4 separate regions of the Homo sapiens genome follow, and regions 1, 2 and 4 are each linked to region 3. Evidence: promoter capture Hi-C in 16 types of primary human blood cells and fetal thymus (Javierre and others, 2016). All regions are on one chromosome and are shown on one strand. The core of a region is centred on a gene start or on the middle of the fragment in contact, and the rest is flanking DNA. Distances in the headings are between cores, read along the strand shown. Region 1 overlaps GMEB2 (glucocorticoid modulatory element binding protein 2). Region 2 overlaps GMEB2 (glucocorticoid modulatory element binding protein 2). Region 3 holds the start of DNAJC5 (DnaJ heat shock protein family (Hsp40) member C5). Region 4 holds the start of HELZ2 (helicase with zinc finger 2).

Region 1 (3,638 bases), core at 628-3,127, 280 kb before region 3:
CATGCCCCTCTGACCCACCTCCATTTCTAGAAACATGCCCCTCTGACCCACACCTCCATTTCTAGAAACATGTCCCTCTGACCCCACCTCCATTTCTAGAAACATGCCCCTCTGACCCCACCTCCATTTCTAGAAACATGCCCCTCTGACCCACACCTCCATTTCTAGAAACATGCCCCTCTGACCTCACCTCCATTTCTAGAAACATGCCCCTCTGACCCACACATCCATTTCTAGAAACATGCCCCTCTGACCCCACCTCCATTTCTAGAAACATGCCCCTCTGACCCCACCTCCATTTCTAGAAACATGCCCCTCTGACTCCACCTCCATTTCTAGAAATTAATCCTGCAGACATGGTGTTCCCACACTGGCATGAGGGTTGTCTGAAACAGGGAACAAGTCTCCAGTTTCTGGAACCCGTGCGGGCAGCTGCCTCTGGGGAGATGATGTGGAGAAGCTGGGAGAGGTCTGGGTGGGGTTCCCAGCTGTGCACCTCATAACAGCCAACTGTATGATGTGTGCACTTCTAAACTTCCAGAAGTTTGCTTAAAAACACACGCACACCAGCCGGGCACGGTGGCTCACACCTGTAATCCCAGCACTTTGGGAGGCCGAGGCAGGCGGATCACAAGGTCAGGAGATCGAGACCATCCTGGCTAACACGGTGAAACCCCGTCTCTACTAAAAATACAAAAAATTAGCCGGGCGTGGTGGCGGGCGCCTGTAGGCCCAGCTACTCAGGAGGCTGAGGCAAGAGAATGGCGTGAACCCGGGAGGTGGAGGTTACAGTGAGCCGAGATCGCGCCATTGCACTCCAGTCTGGGCGACAGAGTGAGAATCTGTCTCAAAAAAAGAAAACAAAACAAAAAAAACATGTAGCAAGAGGAAGTCTCAATTTCCAGATGGTAGAAGAACAGATTTAATTCCCCACAAAAAAGAAGAGGATCTTTAAGTCCTTCAAGACAGCCCTGCCTCAGCTGCCACGTGGGGTTCTCTTCTCAGAGAAGAAGGCGCATGCAGACTCTCCACTGCTCCATAAGCCACTGTCCCGCGAGGGCAGAGCCTTGGCGTCCTGGCAAAGCAACTGCAGACTGAAAAATGCCCTCTGGTCCTTCATGGCTCCCTCCATCAAGACAGGGGGCTATTTCCCACCCCCTCCACTTGACTTTGGGCCAAGCTTTGAAGAGCTTTGACCAAGAGGCTGTGACGAGGCCCTACGAGGACTCTGGCTCTCCTCCTGCTAAGCACACCCAGGCAGGTGTCCTGGCAGATGAGGACCACATGCAGAGCCTCGGCCAGCCCACCAATGCCCGGATATGCAAGTGAGCCCAGCCTGGACCCCCCGGCGAGGCCCAGCAGCACCAGCCCAGGCCCGAAAACCTTAAGAAATGACCAGTGTCTGCTGCTTTAAGCCACCAAGCTCTGCGGTGGTTTGTTAGGCTGCAAGCATGGCTAATTCAGAAACTGCCAGAAACAAGCACTGCTGTCCCCAGCCTGGGACACACAGCACCGCCTCTGCGTGGGGAGAGGGCACAGGCTAAGGGCACAAATGCCATCCCAGACCCGGCTCTTGTGTGTGGAAGGGGCCACTGTGCCATGAGGCAGAGGAAACCTTGGCAGGACCTTATGCCACAGCAATTTAAAAGAGAAGAAACAGGCTGGGCGTGGTGGCTCATGCCTATAATCCCAGCACTTTGGGAGGCCAAGGTGGTGGATCACTTGAGGTCAGGAGTTCAAGACCAGCCTGGCCAATATGGTGAAACCCTGTCTCTACGAAAAATACAAAATTTAGGCAGGCGTGGTGGCGGGTGCCTGTAATCCCTGCTATTCAGGAGGCTGAGGCAAGAGATTTACTTGAACCCGGGAGGTGGAGGCTGCTGCAGTGAGCTGAGATCATGCCACTGCACTCCAGCCTGTGTGACGGAGTGAGACTTGGTCTCAAAAAAAAAAAAGGAAACACATCTGACTAGTGTGATCTCGCAAGGAACATTCCAGACACAGTGGAGCTAGAAGGTTCTTCTCCAAACAAGGAATCCCCAGGGGATCAAATTGTTTTGCATCGGCCAGACATGGTGGCTCAAGCCTGTAACCCCAGTGCTTCGGGAGGCTGAGGTGGGAGGACTGCTTGAGTCCAGGAGTTCAAGACTAGCTTGGGCAACACAGTGAGAGCCCATTAGCCAGGCGTGGTGGCACATGCCTGCAGTCCCAGCACTGTACTAAAAATCTACACGGGGCCGGGCATGGTGGCACATGCCTGTAGAGTCCCAGCTACTCAGGAGGCTGAGGCAGGACGATTCCTTGAACCCAGGAGGTCACGGCTGCCATGAGCCGTGACTGTGCCACTGCACTCCAGTCTGTGCAACAGAACGAGACTCTGTTTCGAAAAACAAAAAATCATTTCATGTCTCCAGTTTCTCCACTGGCAAAAGACTCTGTCAAGGTAAAAAATGGTTCTGACCCACAGAAATCTAAGAAAGGAAAAAATATAAAAAATAGAAAATTTAAAAAAGAGATGGTCTCAGAATAAAGACCAACCTGGGCTATGGTTGTCACTCTTCCCTCACACCTTAGAAAGCTTTCTGGCCGCATCTGGCCAAAGGGCCACCCTGCCCCATCTTGGATCAGTGAGGTGCCTTCGAACAAGCCACCTGCCCTGGAGCCCGTCCTGTCTTGTCTGCCACCGCACGCTCAGTAGGGGAGGGGAAGTCGCTAGGTTTTAGTTCACCAGTCTCTGGATCAAGACGTGCCATAACCAAGAAGCCCCAGCCACACCCAGACCCGACGTGGCCACAAGGGGTGAGCTGGGAAGGCCCAGGAAAAGGCGGGAGGCGGACGAATGGAAATGTCATTCTGTGGCCACAGAAATGATCTCAACGTTTTGTAACTTCCTACCAAGAGGCAGTCTTAGCTCTGCCCTTGAACCAGCACTTGGTGATGTCGCTTGCGTCAATCAAGGCAACAGAAGTGAGCAGGAGGCCCACTTTCCTCTGCAACTGTGGGCTTACGGGGCAAAGAAGTCCAGGCCTCCAGGTGGAGGATCACAGACCGGGCAAAGCAGAGGAGAGCCACCCAGCCGAGCCTACCTGTGCCTCAGACTGCCTCCCTCCAGAGACCCCTGTGGCCAAGGCCACCCAGACCAGCAGGTCCTTGCCAAGCTGTCAGCTGACGACAGGGGTTGGTGAGGCCGGCCCAGACCAGCAGAACCACGAACCAACCAACAGAATTAAAAATAATAACAACTATGTCTTGTCTTAAGCCACTAAGTTTTGGATGGTTTCTTTCTTTCTTTTTCTTTTTTTTTTTCGGAGACGCAGTCTCACTCTGTTGCCCAGGCTGGAGTGCAGTGGCGCAATCTTGGCTCACTGCAAGCTCTGCCCCCCGGATTCACGCCATTCCCCTGCCTCAGCCTCCTGAGTAACTGGGACTACAGGTGCCTGCCATTGGGTGTTTTCTTAAACAGCAAAAGAAAACTGACACAATCATAAACAGAGCAAGCAAGAGAACTTGGCAATTATTTCCTCTCTACTTCTCACTGTTCTTCAAAGAGTTAACTCAAGCATAAGATGTGAGCAAATTCTTTTAACATCCTAGAAAAAAAGCTCCTACTCAGTGTTCATAAAGCAAAGCTAACCTAC
Region 2 (3,762 bases), core at 550-3,049, 300 kb before region 3:
ACCCATTCACTGCAGCCGAAAGGGAACCTCGGGTGAGTGCTGTTTGGACCACAGTCCCACACCCCACATACCCTGTCCACCCTCCTCACACCACCTTCTGAACCTTTCCATCTGTCTTCACAAAACTGACAAACACAGGATACGCACTAGTACAGCCAAAGTGTACCTGCCTTATATTTTATGGCTATTTTTAATCACAGACGTTGTCAAACATACAAAGGAGAAACAACGCAGAAACAAATCCCTTGAACCCGTCACCCAATTTCAGCAAATCCTCAACACTTTCCTCCTCTTGTCCATTTACGATTGTACTCAACAAGCACTTTCGACTGGACCGTCAGGAGCGAGACAAGGTGATCCTTCTGCTTGACTTGTTTTCCCACCGAGAGCTCTGCGGCTGCGTCTGTCGCCCGTGGGGCTCGCCCTCACCTCGCCTCTTCAAGTGATGCTTCATTGAAGTCATCATAAATCTCAGTATCTATCATGTTTCCATTTTTCTACACCAGAACAAGTGGGGCTTTGAGAGACAGAAACCGTCCTGGCTCTTCCTGTGGGTCCCTCTCTCGCGCCTGCAGAACACAACTGGGCGTGTCGTTCATATGTGGCCATTTTGGGCGTTGCTGATAGAGACTTTATACACAGATCTGGCTTAAAAAACAAACCCGGGGCCGGATGTGGTGGCTCACGCCTGTAATCCAGGCACTTTGGGAGACTGAGGCGGGTGGATCACCTAAGGTCAGGAGTTCGAGAACAGCCTGGGCAACACGGCAAAACCCCGTCTCTACTAAAATACAAAGTCAACCGGGTGTGGCGGCGTGCGCCTGTAATCCCAGCTACTCGGGAGGCTGAGGCAGGAGAATCGCTAGAACCCGGAAGGCAGAGGTTGCAGTGAGCCGAGATCAGGCCCCTGCACTCCAGCCTGGGCGACAGAGCAGGACTCCTTCTCCAACACCACCACCAACGACCTGGAAGCAGTTGAATGTTTTGGGAATACTGGCCTTTTCCACATTCATCAAAGACATGGCAGTGGTGAGTATGACTCATATTACACATCTGGAATTATTTGGGGCGTGAATGAGTCGTTTTTCCGAGTTGGGGCTGGCACAGCATCTTTTACTAACTGCACAGTAGCCAAGTCAATGGTTCTCAGAGATTGCAGGTTAAAGAACCCAAATCATCTTCAGAAGAGCTGAGCCTCAGCCTAGCTGTGAGGCACTGACTACAGGGCGTGGAAGGCCCAGTTCCTTCCCTGGCAGGCGGTCAGGCAGGGCCAACACTAACGCGGTGGAGCCGCTGGGGAGGCCCTGGGGAGGACAGACAGGAGGCTGGGCTCTACCCAGCCCCTCTGACCACAGCAGCCCAAGTGTCCTGGGCTTCTCAGGACTCAGCACTGAACCTGCCAGGCTGCCCCAGCAGGACGTGGAAGGGGGCCCAGGAGAAGGGTGAGGCCTCCCTAGTGCCCTGGCCTCACTCTCCTACCCAGCGGGACAGGACAGGACTCAACTGGGTCCCACCTGGGCCAACAACAAGGACGTCCCTGGGCACACAGGAACACAATCTGGCCAGCAATGCGGAGTGGCAGCTTAGGGACAATGCATGTGGCATTGCTGGAAACACATCACCAAAGACCACCCAGAGATGTGACCAGGGAGCCCAGGACCTAACTTCACTTTAACTTCAGTTTTTTTGTTTTGAGATGGAATCTCACACTGTCGCCCAGGCTGGAGGGCAGTGGAGCGATCTCAGCTCACTGCAACCTCCGCCTCCTGGGTTCAAGCGATTCTCCTGCCTCAGCCTCCTGAGTAGCTGGGACTACAGGCATGCACCACCACACCCGGCTAACTTCTGTACTTTTAATAGAGACAGGGTTTCATCCTGTTGGCCAGGCTGGCCTCAAGTGATCCACCCGCCTCGGCTTCCCAAAGTGCTGGGGTTACAGGTGTGAGCCACCACACCCAGCCTAACTGTAGTTTTAAGAAAAATTTCTCTATTCATAAAGCTGGAAAGAATTCTAGGGAACAACCTCTCCACAGTTTAGAGCTACAGACACCAACGTGGAACAGTATCTAAAGCGTCACCCAAAAACCCAAGTGGCAGGAATACCTGCAGCAAGGCACCCAGCACGGAAGGCGGGAGCACAGGCGCGCAGTTCCGTAAACCGCCAGGTCAGGAGGGAAGCGGGTCCAGATTTGGGGCTGGGCCGTGGGGGTGGGAGGGAGGGGGCCGGGTGGGCGCCCAGGCACTCTCTGTTACTCGCTATACCCTTCCCCACACGTGAGTTATTATATTACAACCAAAATGGCTTAAAAAGAAAAGTGCTTCAATCTTCCTTGTCAATGAAAGCAGCAATTCTGCCAGATCTCCTCTGTGAGGCAGGAGGAGGCTGATCCCAGACAACTCAGGGTCCCAGGCAGGAGACCGGCAGTCCTGGCGTGAGCAAACGCCTGGGGCCAAGGAGGCCACCCAGGGGCATGTCACCCTCTGTGGCCATGGCCAGGGTGGGGCTGGGTCAGGACGAGCAGCCCTGTGCACCTACCGTCGGCTGCGGCGGGCGTGAGGGGAATGTACTCGGCCGACGTGGGGCTGCTCAGGGACACACGGGCTCCTGAGAGGTCAATCTTTGTGCTGCGGCAGGTGTTGGAGCAGACCTTGTCATGCTGGTAGAAGTCCAGTTCCCCGGAGTCCATGATCTTCCTGTGACAGACAGTGGCATGGAGCGTCCAGGTCGGCCCCAGAGCCGAAGGCACCTGGCCCGCCCACCCTGACCTGGGCCATCCACCTGCGTGGGGCAGGCCTAGCAGAGGCGCTGGCAGCTCCACAGGGCAGGGTGGGCTCTACTTCCCTCTTAGCGCGAGCTCGGCGTGCAGGACCCTGCTGCTGAAGAAGCAGCCGGCCCAGGCCCACGCTACGGCACTGTCCCCAGGAAGGGGGCAAGCGCTGGCCAGTGGGTGTCCTGGAGGTGCCCGTCAGAGTCTGTGGGGCTGGGCCTTTCTGGGATGTCCCACTACCCCAGCCCCAAGGGAGTGACCCACAGCTAACAAAGGTGGGCCCAGTCCACCTGCATCATGCGTGACTCATTCTGAAGCAGAGGAAGGTGGGAAATCACTTCCAGGAGAACCTTCCTCCTTCTAAAGGCACAGAGACAGCCAAGAAGAGTGATGAGGGCGCAGGACAGCACCAACGGCCATGGCTGCCGCTCATCCTCATCTTTACCAGGAAGGCTTCGTACGGCCCAAACTGCTGAGAGCCGCCCTCCCAGGGCCCTCTCTTCTGCCTCTCCGGAGGTCCAGGGTCTCAGTCCTGTGTGTCTCAACGAGCCTGCCTCGACCCATGAAACGAGGGTCAGAGGCTCCAGCCTCATTCAATCTTTGGGCAGCACTGACCTCAGGCACACACAGGCTAATGCTTCTGTGGTCAGCTCAGGACTTGCCTACCTGGCCGGTGGTCCCCACAGCTGTGCCACCAGCCACGTTCCAGAAAATCAGAGGCCAGTTCAGCTGGACAGGGAAAGGACCTGAGCCATGGGAAAGGACCCAGGGCTAGTCACTCGTGAGGTCTCAAACTCTGACTCCAGCACAAAGCAGGGGCCCTCCTTGGGAAGCAAGGTAGAGGCCAGGCCCACAAAGACTGAGACTGAGGCTTATGATTCACAGATAAGTGAAGGCCGGGCACGGTGGCTCATGCCTGGAATCCCAGCACTTTGGGAGGCTGAGGCAGGTCAATCACCTGAGGTCAAGTGTTCGAGACCAGCCTGGACAATAT
Region 3 (3,396 bases), core at 368-2,867:
CTCACTACAGCCTTGACTTCCCACCCGATCCAGCCTCCTGAGTAGCTGGGACTACAGGGGCATGCATGCCACTGTGGCCGGGCCAATTAAAAAAATTTTTTTTTATAGAGATGGTGGTCTCACTATGTTGTCCAGGCAGGTCTCAAACTCCTGGGCTCCAGTGATCTTCCTGCCTTGGTCTACCAAAGTGCTGAGATTCCAGGCGTGAGCCATGGGTCCCGTTGTATACATTTCAGTAACTATATTATTCCATTTGAGTGCTCACTTGTGCAGTTGGGCAGGTTTCCATTCTCGCTATTAAAAATAGTGCCTTCATGAATATTTCAGTGCATATACCTTTTTCTGTATTTAGGAATATTTTCTTTGGAAGAATGTCCCTAAAGTGGAACTGCTAGGTCTCAGAGGGACTCACTTAAGGCTGGTTCATTCATTCTTGCAGCTCCCAGCACAAGTGGAATATAGCTTCAATCTGAGATCGGTACCAGGCCCATTTCATTCTCTCATCCCTCCAATTCTGGCCTGAAATATTTCATTCTCTTGGAATCTATAGTTGTAGATATGAACCTGGCCTTTCTGCTTCTTGGGTTCCATAGGCCTTTTCTTGCTGCCTGCTTGATGTTGCGCAGCTTAATGACTGCTAGGAGGCTTCCCAAGCTCTGACACTTCCAGGCTGTGAGACTGGAACAAGCTTGGCAATTCAAGACCGGCATTATGGCAGTGAGTTATGAGGGCAGAGGAAGGAGGCCAGAGCGTGTTGAGAGAGAATTTGGGTTTCACGCAGTGTGTCACGGGAAGCCTTGGATGCTACTGGGTTTGTTTTAAAAAGATGACCGCACTGAACTCAGGTAAACGGGCAAGGGTGGAAGCGAGGAGGCAGGAGCACCGGCCGCAGAGGTCTGGGAGCTTCTAGGATGGGAAGTGGCCCAGGCAGCCTACGCGGGGCAGGCCGTCAGTGAGTGGCGGAGCGCCTGCAGTTACAGGGACAGGGAAGGGTGGCCGACGGGATGGGCAAGGGCAGAGGGAGGTGGAGTGGACGTTCGTGGTCCTGCCTCTCCACGCTGCTGTTTGGAGATGATTCCGGGAGGGTGGGAGGGCGCTGGCGACGGCATTTCAGTGGTTGGACAGGAAGGAAGGAAGGACGTCCCATCTCGGCGCTCCAGGGTTGAGCAAATGTCAGTCCCAGGACGGTGGCTCCGGGTGGGGGCGGGGGCGACGGTCCGCAGCCGTCTCCCACCAGCTCCCTGTTCAGTTCTTTGATGAGAACGATTACGTTTTCTCAGTCTTACTTAAAGCGCTGAGTAAACTCACCTGCAAGACCAGCAAGCCCTGCGCTTCTCTTTCTGCGCGGTTCCCCGCAGCACATGGCGTGTCCACCCGGGACCCACCTGCGGCCACCTGAAGACTGGGAGGACTGGCTCCGCCCCCGCGCTTCGTCCCCGCCCACTCATGGGCGGAGCCTCCACAGGGCGCCTCGGCCCCGGGCTGTCACTCGGGACTCCGCCCCTTCATGGACGGAGCCTCCGCTCGGCTCTCTGAGCGCATGCGCAGCCGGTCCCACCCGCGGCTCCGACACGCCGGAGCCCACGTCCTTCCGGGAGCGCGCGCGCCGGTGCGGGTGCGTGCGTGAGCGTGCTCGTCTCCGCTGCCGCTGCCGCTGCCGCTGCCGGTGCCGCACCCGCGCCCTCTGCCGCCGCCGCCGCCGCCGCCCGGGGTCTCCAGGCTGAGGAGTGCGTCGGCCGCTGCCCAGCAGCGCCGCGAATCGGGGAGCGGAGCCGCGGAGCCGGCGGGAGGGCGGGCGGGCGGGCGGACGGGCAGGTGAGCTCGCTGCGGGTCGGGCGGGCGGATCGGCCCACGTCAGGCCCGGGCAGGCGGGCGGGCGGGCGCGGGTGGGGGGCGGGGGCGGCACTCCAGAGCCGGAAATGGCGGCGACCCCCGGGCCGGGGCTGCGCGGGCGCTCGGGGCCGGAGCTGCTGCGACGCCGCGGCCTGGGCCGGGGCGGGGGCGCGGGAAGGTCGGCGCCGGGGCCTGCGGGAGCCGGGCCGGGCCGGGCCGGGGGTCTGAGCACCGTGGTGGGGGCTGGGGCGGCGCTCTCCGCGGGTCTCTTCGGGCCCGGACGCCCCCTCCGCTCCCCCAGGTCCCCGCGGCCGCCCCCAACCCCCCGGGGTCTCCTCTCCTGCGGGGGGACTGGAGAAGCTGGGCCATCGCTGGTCTTAGGGAGGCAGATAATTTAGTCCCTGGGTCGTTGTGTTTATAGCTCGGGGAATTGAAAATTGTTCTGTAACGCATCGTAAATTAATCTTTCCGACGTTGTAAATTCCAAAAAGCATTTGGTTTGTTAGAAAAAACCTGTTTTCTCCGCTTTATAAAAACATTTGAAGCCATGCTTTATATTGAACTCTTAAGGAGAGTATTAGGAACTCGTCCGTTCAGGTTCTAACTTGTTGGTGTTAAGTGTCTGGATTAAAGACTCTCTTTTTCGTGTGCCGAAGCCATGATTTCTCAAATTCATTCAGTTGTGTCATACAGGAAAAGGAAGCAAAAATTTCAGCTTTATTTTTGTTTTCCGGCTTAGGCTTGGTTGGGAAGATTTGATGGTGGTTAGACACGTCTGCCCTTATTTGCCTGTTTAGAAAAACCTATTCTAATGACAAAAACAGTTACATTGCTCCCACTATTGTCATGGTTACCTGAAGGCAAAAGTTTACTCAAAGCTTCTGAGATTTTATGTTCGTTTATTTGCTTCTCTTTTTAAAAAAATGTCAGCTGAGTTTCAGGAATGAGTAGTCTGTCAAACAAGAGATGAAATTAGAAGCCTGGATCTAAGGGCTTTGGGGAAGTTTCGGTTGAGTTCCCCTTTCACTTGTGTCGGTGCTGTAGGACTCGGGGTGGCTCCAGCTGGCGTCTGGCCCAGCAGAGAGCTGTAGGGGCCCGCTCTGGTTGCTGGCTGTGTGGACTCTGAGGGACACCCCTGGCGAGGGTGTTAATGAGCCTGCAGCGTCTGAGTCCACCCACCCTCAGACTGGCCCCTGACTCACTCTGCACCTGCCATATCAGCCTCCTTGCTAGTTCTGAACAGAGCCACATGCTCTGTCCTTGGATCTTCCTGGAATGCCTGGTTCCTTAACCCCCTAGCCTGGCGACTGCCTGCCTGCCTTGCCACCCAGTTCCCTTCCTCGCTTAATTTTCCCACAGCGCTGAATCCTCCTAGTGTCCTGCTTAATGCATTTATCATACTTAATATTTTACTGTGAGTTAGTAAGGTCCGTGGAGAGAATGTTTTGTGAAAAAAACAGTTGCTGGCACATGATCGGGGCCCAGTAAATATTTGTTCAGTGAATGAACGTGAGGAGCTTAGCAGCAGCTGTGCGTGGTGCTGGCCTTGTCACCCGGAAGTCC
Region 4 (3,618 bases), core at 913-3,412, 320 kb before region 3:
TACTCCAAGCTCCTGCCTCGAGTATCCTTACTTTGGGCAGAGCTCGAACTTGGAGAGTCCCGGGGGTGGGGAACGGTGCTCCCAGGGCAGGGCCTGGTCGAAGGCCACCATCTGTGCGTGCTCCGAGGATGCGCAGTGGTTCTCGAAGGCCTCCTGAGAGTGGCAGGTGACCAAGCAGGCCGGGCAGTACAGCTGGGCCCCAGGGGGCTGGCCAAGGGGGGCCGTGCGCCCGTCGCCATCAGGGGCAGGGGGTGTGAGCAGGTCCCCCCGCTGGAGGCCACCCAGCTGCTCGGCCTCCCACACAGCCATCTCCACGGCGCTGTGTGCAAACTGGCAGCGGGACTCCCCACGCCAGCACGGCTGCCCACGCCCCACAAACCTGCAGTAGGCAGGAGGCTGGCCGGCCCGGGGCCGCGGCCTCACCACCACAAACTGTTGCTTGCGGCGGCCCTCGGCGCTCACGTGGGCCAGGAGGGAGGGGCAGGCTCCGTGCTCAGGGCACTGCCCCTGGGGGTCCACGCGACAGATGCATGGGGGACAGCGCCTGAAGCAGAGGGAGCAAAGCAGCTCGAAGCGGCCGCCAAACTCCGTAAGGATGGCGTCGGCCGCCCGGCCTGCCCCTCCCTGGGCCCCGCTGCCCTGCACCTCCGCCTTCAGCCATAGGCGCTGGAGGTTGTGCTGACGCTCGAAGGTCCAGACCAGGGCCTCCTCGCGACTGCGGGCAAAGGTGCACCGGTTTCGGTGGCGCCGGCAGCCGAGCCCAGGGCTGTAGTAGTGGCAGACTTGGTAGCACAGGGGCCTTGGGAAGGTGGGCCGGCAGCCCACCACGCGCCAGACCTTGCTCTTGGTGGCCTGCTTAAAGCGGGCCAGCAGGATCTCGCGGGAGCAGTCATGCTCCACCCTACGGAGGACGTAGGTGCTTTCATTGAGCCGCTGGGTGCAGCGGGAGCAGCCCAGACACAGGTCCACCAGGGCACACAGCCGGGCCAGGGACGGCCCTCTGGTGGCCGCGGGGCTGTTGGGCAGCAGGGTGGACCCTGGAGGCGCCACCTCGAACACCAGCTTGGCTCTCCAGGGAGGCGTCTGAGGCTCCTGAGCTCACGGGTCCACGCAGTCCACTGGAACTGTTGGCCACGGTTCGAAGCCTGCGACAGAAGGAGCAGGTGAGACTGAGGCCAGAGGACATCTGGTCCAGGCCCAGCTCAGAAGCACGGCCTCTCCACCAGGCAAGGAGCTGGGGATCTGCCTATCCTGATGCCCAAGCAGAGGCCTCTCCACCAAGCAAGGAGTTGGGACTCTCCCCACCCTGACGCCCAAGTGGAGGCCTTGGCAGTAGCTGTGTCCTGTCAGGGAGTACAGGGCTCACTGACCCGGACACAGCCAGACCCTCCCTCCTGAAGGGTCTCAGGCCCCACCTAGAAGGAGCCAAGGTGACTGCTTGTGGAGCCCTGGAGGGGGCAGAGCCCTTGGCACAGTGCCGCCCCCAGGAGGCCGCACCCCTCTGCCCCAGCCAGGGGTCCTGTGCACCCCAGGGCCTCAGGCTCCTGACTCTTCTAAGGACACAGCACCTCCTTTTCTATTGAATGACCACTGGCCCCCAGGAAAAGAGGACTCCACATCTGCACCTGGGGAGGGGCCTCACGGAGAGGAGGGTACAGTGCCCACCAGAGCTCAGGGTGCCAGGAAGAGATGGGTCCCCGGGTCCCCACCGCAGCTGGGATGCTACAAGAAGAGTAAGTTTAAAAGCAACAGACTGGAGGCAGACTTCAGTATGAGAACCCGGCACTCCCCGCGGACCCCTCTGAGAAAACATCCGAGTCTGCCATCCAGAAAGGACGGGAGCCGAGACCCCAAAATCCTGCGCTCCAGTGGGTGCAGAGACCACAGCGCTGGGTCTTGCTGCGGAGGGTGCTGGTCCTGGACGGGCTGCACTGCCCCGGGCTGGGTCTGTGGCTCCCGGGACTCCGCGCCCCCGGCTGCACTCACCCTCCCGGACCCCCCCCTCCGCCCCCGGCCCCGCCACCCTGGGACCCCCGCGCTCACCCTCCTGGAGCCGCCCCTGGACCCCCGCGCCCCCGCCCCTCCGCCCTGGGACCCCCGCGCTCACCCTCCTGGAGCTGCCTGCCCTGCCGAGCCTGCCCAGGAGCTCTCAGTTTCGATTCTGGCCCGGGCACTGACGCTGATCGCGGAAATTACCTCACCGCCCCCCGCCCCGCCCCGCCCTGCCCCGCCTCCAGCGACAGCTCGGCCCCCGCTGCGAGGGAACCTCGGGAAGCGCCAGCGAGCAGAGGACGCCCCTCCCTGAAGGGCCAGCGCCGTCGAAGGCGGAGGCGGCTGGGGGTGGGGGTCCTTTCCCGCACCCCTCCAGGGCCCCACGCCCCGTCCAGCCCTTCACACACCAGAGACGCCCCGATGATGTGCCAGGCGGAAGGGGTGAGACCCTGCCCGGCCCTGGACGGCAGGATGGTCTGGTGACTCCACCATCAGCCCCTGGAGAAATCCAGGCACAGCTGACCTGGAAGCCTGGGTCCCCTGACAGGCAGGACCTGCCCGTGGCCCTGGTGCTGCTGGGACCCCAAGTCCCTTCTGTCACCAACCAGGATATGGCAGGAATGGCTAAGTGGCCGCCGGGTCCCAGAGTCAGCACGCCTGGCTCTTGGCTCTCTGGACTGGCTCTGGGCCCTCAGCAGCCCTGTGGGGAGGCCCCATAGAGGAGCTGAGGCCTCCAGCCCACTTGCAGCTCGAGTCCCAGCCCCAGCCTTACTGCCATCTCAGGGAGACCCCAGGCCTAACCCTCCCACCTAGACCACGCCCAGCTGTTAGATGTCTATGTTTAAAATAAACGTCCCATTAGCCAGGGGTGGGGGCGGGCGCCTGTAGTCCCAGTTACTCGGGAGGCTGAGGCAGAAGCATTGCTTGAACCAAGGAAGTGGAGGTTGCAGTGCGCCAAGATTGCGCCACTGCACTCCAGCCTGGGCAACAGAGCAAGACTCCATCTCAAAACAAATAAATAAATAAAATAAACATCTGTGTTGTTTTAAGCCCCTGAGCTTTGGGGCGATCTGTTCTGCAGCAGTAGATAACGGACAGTGATGCTGCCCCTGAAACAAGGAAGCAAGGCTGCCACCCAAGGCCAGCACCTCGTGGGGAGGGCCAGGCTGGGGGCTCACAGCGACCTCGGGAGGTCGGCTGGGTGGGCCGTCAACCACCAGGGAGCCTCTCCGCAGACCAATCACGTTGGAGCTCCTGGGAGAGGGCAGGCCCTCGACAATAGCAGCCCCAGGGGCCGGGCGCTGAGCAGGGTCCATGTGCGTGGAACGCTGGGAGAATTTGTGTGGAACGCTGTGTTCCTGGATGGAGAGGCTCAACACCACACAAAGACGTGAGTTCCTCCTAAACTAACCTGCAGTCGCATGGTGGACACACTGACTTTCAAGTCCATTTGGAAAAGCATCACATCACCAAGAAAGGCTGGACAGGGCTTTTTTTTTTTTTGAGACTGAGTCTCCTTCCATTGCCCCGGCGGGAGTGCAGTGATGCAATCACAGTTCACTGCAGCCTCGACCTCTGGCTCAGACAGTCTTCCCCCCTCAGCCTCCTGAGTCGCTGGGACTACAG

The links. The method cuts DNA at HindIII sites, captures the fragments that hold promoters and counts their contacts. A CHiCAGO score of 5 or more calls a contact.
Region 1: a fragment that was not itself captured here is called in contact with the fragment with the promoter of DNAJC5 in region 3 in 4 of 17 cell types (monocytes, M0 macrophages, total CD4 T cells and 1 more); the score reaches 10.6 in monocytes.
Region 2: a contact is called between a fragment that was not itself captured here and the fragment with the promoter of DNAJC5 in region 3, in 1 of 17 cell types (monocytes). The highest score is 5.2, in monocytes.
Region 4: a contact is called between the fragment with the promoter of HELZ2 here and the fragment with the promoter of DNAJC5 in region 3, in 3 of 17 cell types (total CD4 T cells, naive CD8 T cells and neutrophils). The highest score is 7.8, in total CD4 T cells.

The regions. Positions count from the first base shown.
Region 1 is chr20:63,609,672-63,613,309 of GRCh38, forward strand. All of the region lies in intron 2 of GMEB2 (glucocorticoid modulatory element binding protein 2), which reads right to left. Among named protein-coding and RNA genes, the nearest start is that of GMEB2, 16 kb to the right of the region's middle. RefSeq lists an enhancer at 822-991. The HindIII fragment of the contact is 1,398 bases long and covers 1,179-2,576 here.
Region 2 is chr20:63,593,074-63,596,835 of GRCh38, forward strand. GMEB2 (glucocorticoid modulatory element binding protein 2) reads right to left here. Exons shown (of 10, transcript NM_012384.5): 6 at 2,537-2,694; 7 at 1-9. Among named protein-coding and RNA genes, the nearest start is that of HELZ2, 21 kb to the left of the region's middle. The HindIII fragment of the contact is 6,029 bases long and covers 1-3,762 here.
Region 3 is chr20:63,893,509-63,896,904 of GRCh38, forward strand. It overlaps DNAJC5 (DnaJ heat shock protein family (Hsp40) member C5), which reads left to right and starts at 1,618. Exons shown (of 5, transcript NM_025219.3): 1 at 1,618-1,815. RefSeq lists enhancers at 831-1,000, 933-1,460, a cis regulatory region at 916 and a silencer at 1,460-1,699. The HindIII fragment of the contact is 2,023 bases long and covers 687-2,709 here.
Region 4 is chr20:63,572,077-63,575,694 of GRCh38, forward strand. HELZ2 (helicase with zinc finger 2) reads right to left here and starts at 2,163. Exons shown (of 20, transcript NM_001037335.2): 1 at 2,108-2,163; 2 at 32-1,145. The coding sequence starts at 309. RefSeq lists silencers at 1,508-1,567, 2,208-2,487, 3,597-3,618 and an enhancer at 2,272-2,999. The HindIII fragment of the contact is 21,413 bases long and covers 1-3,618 here.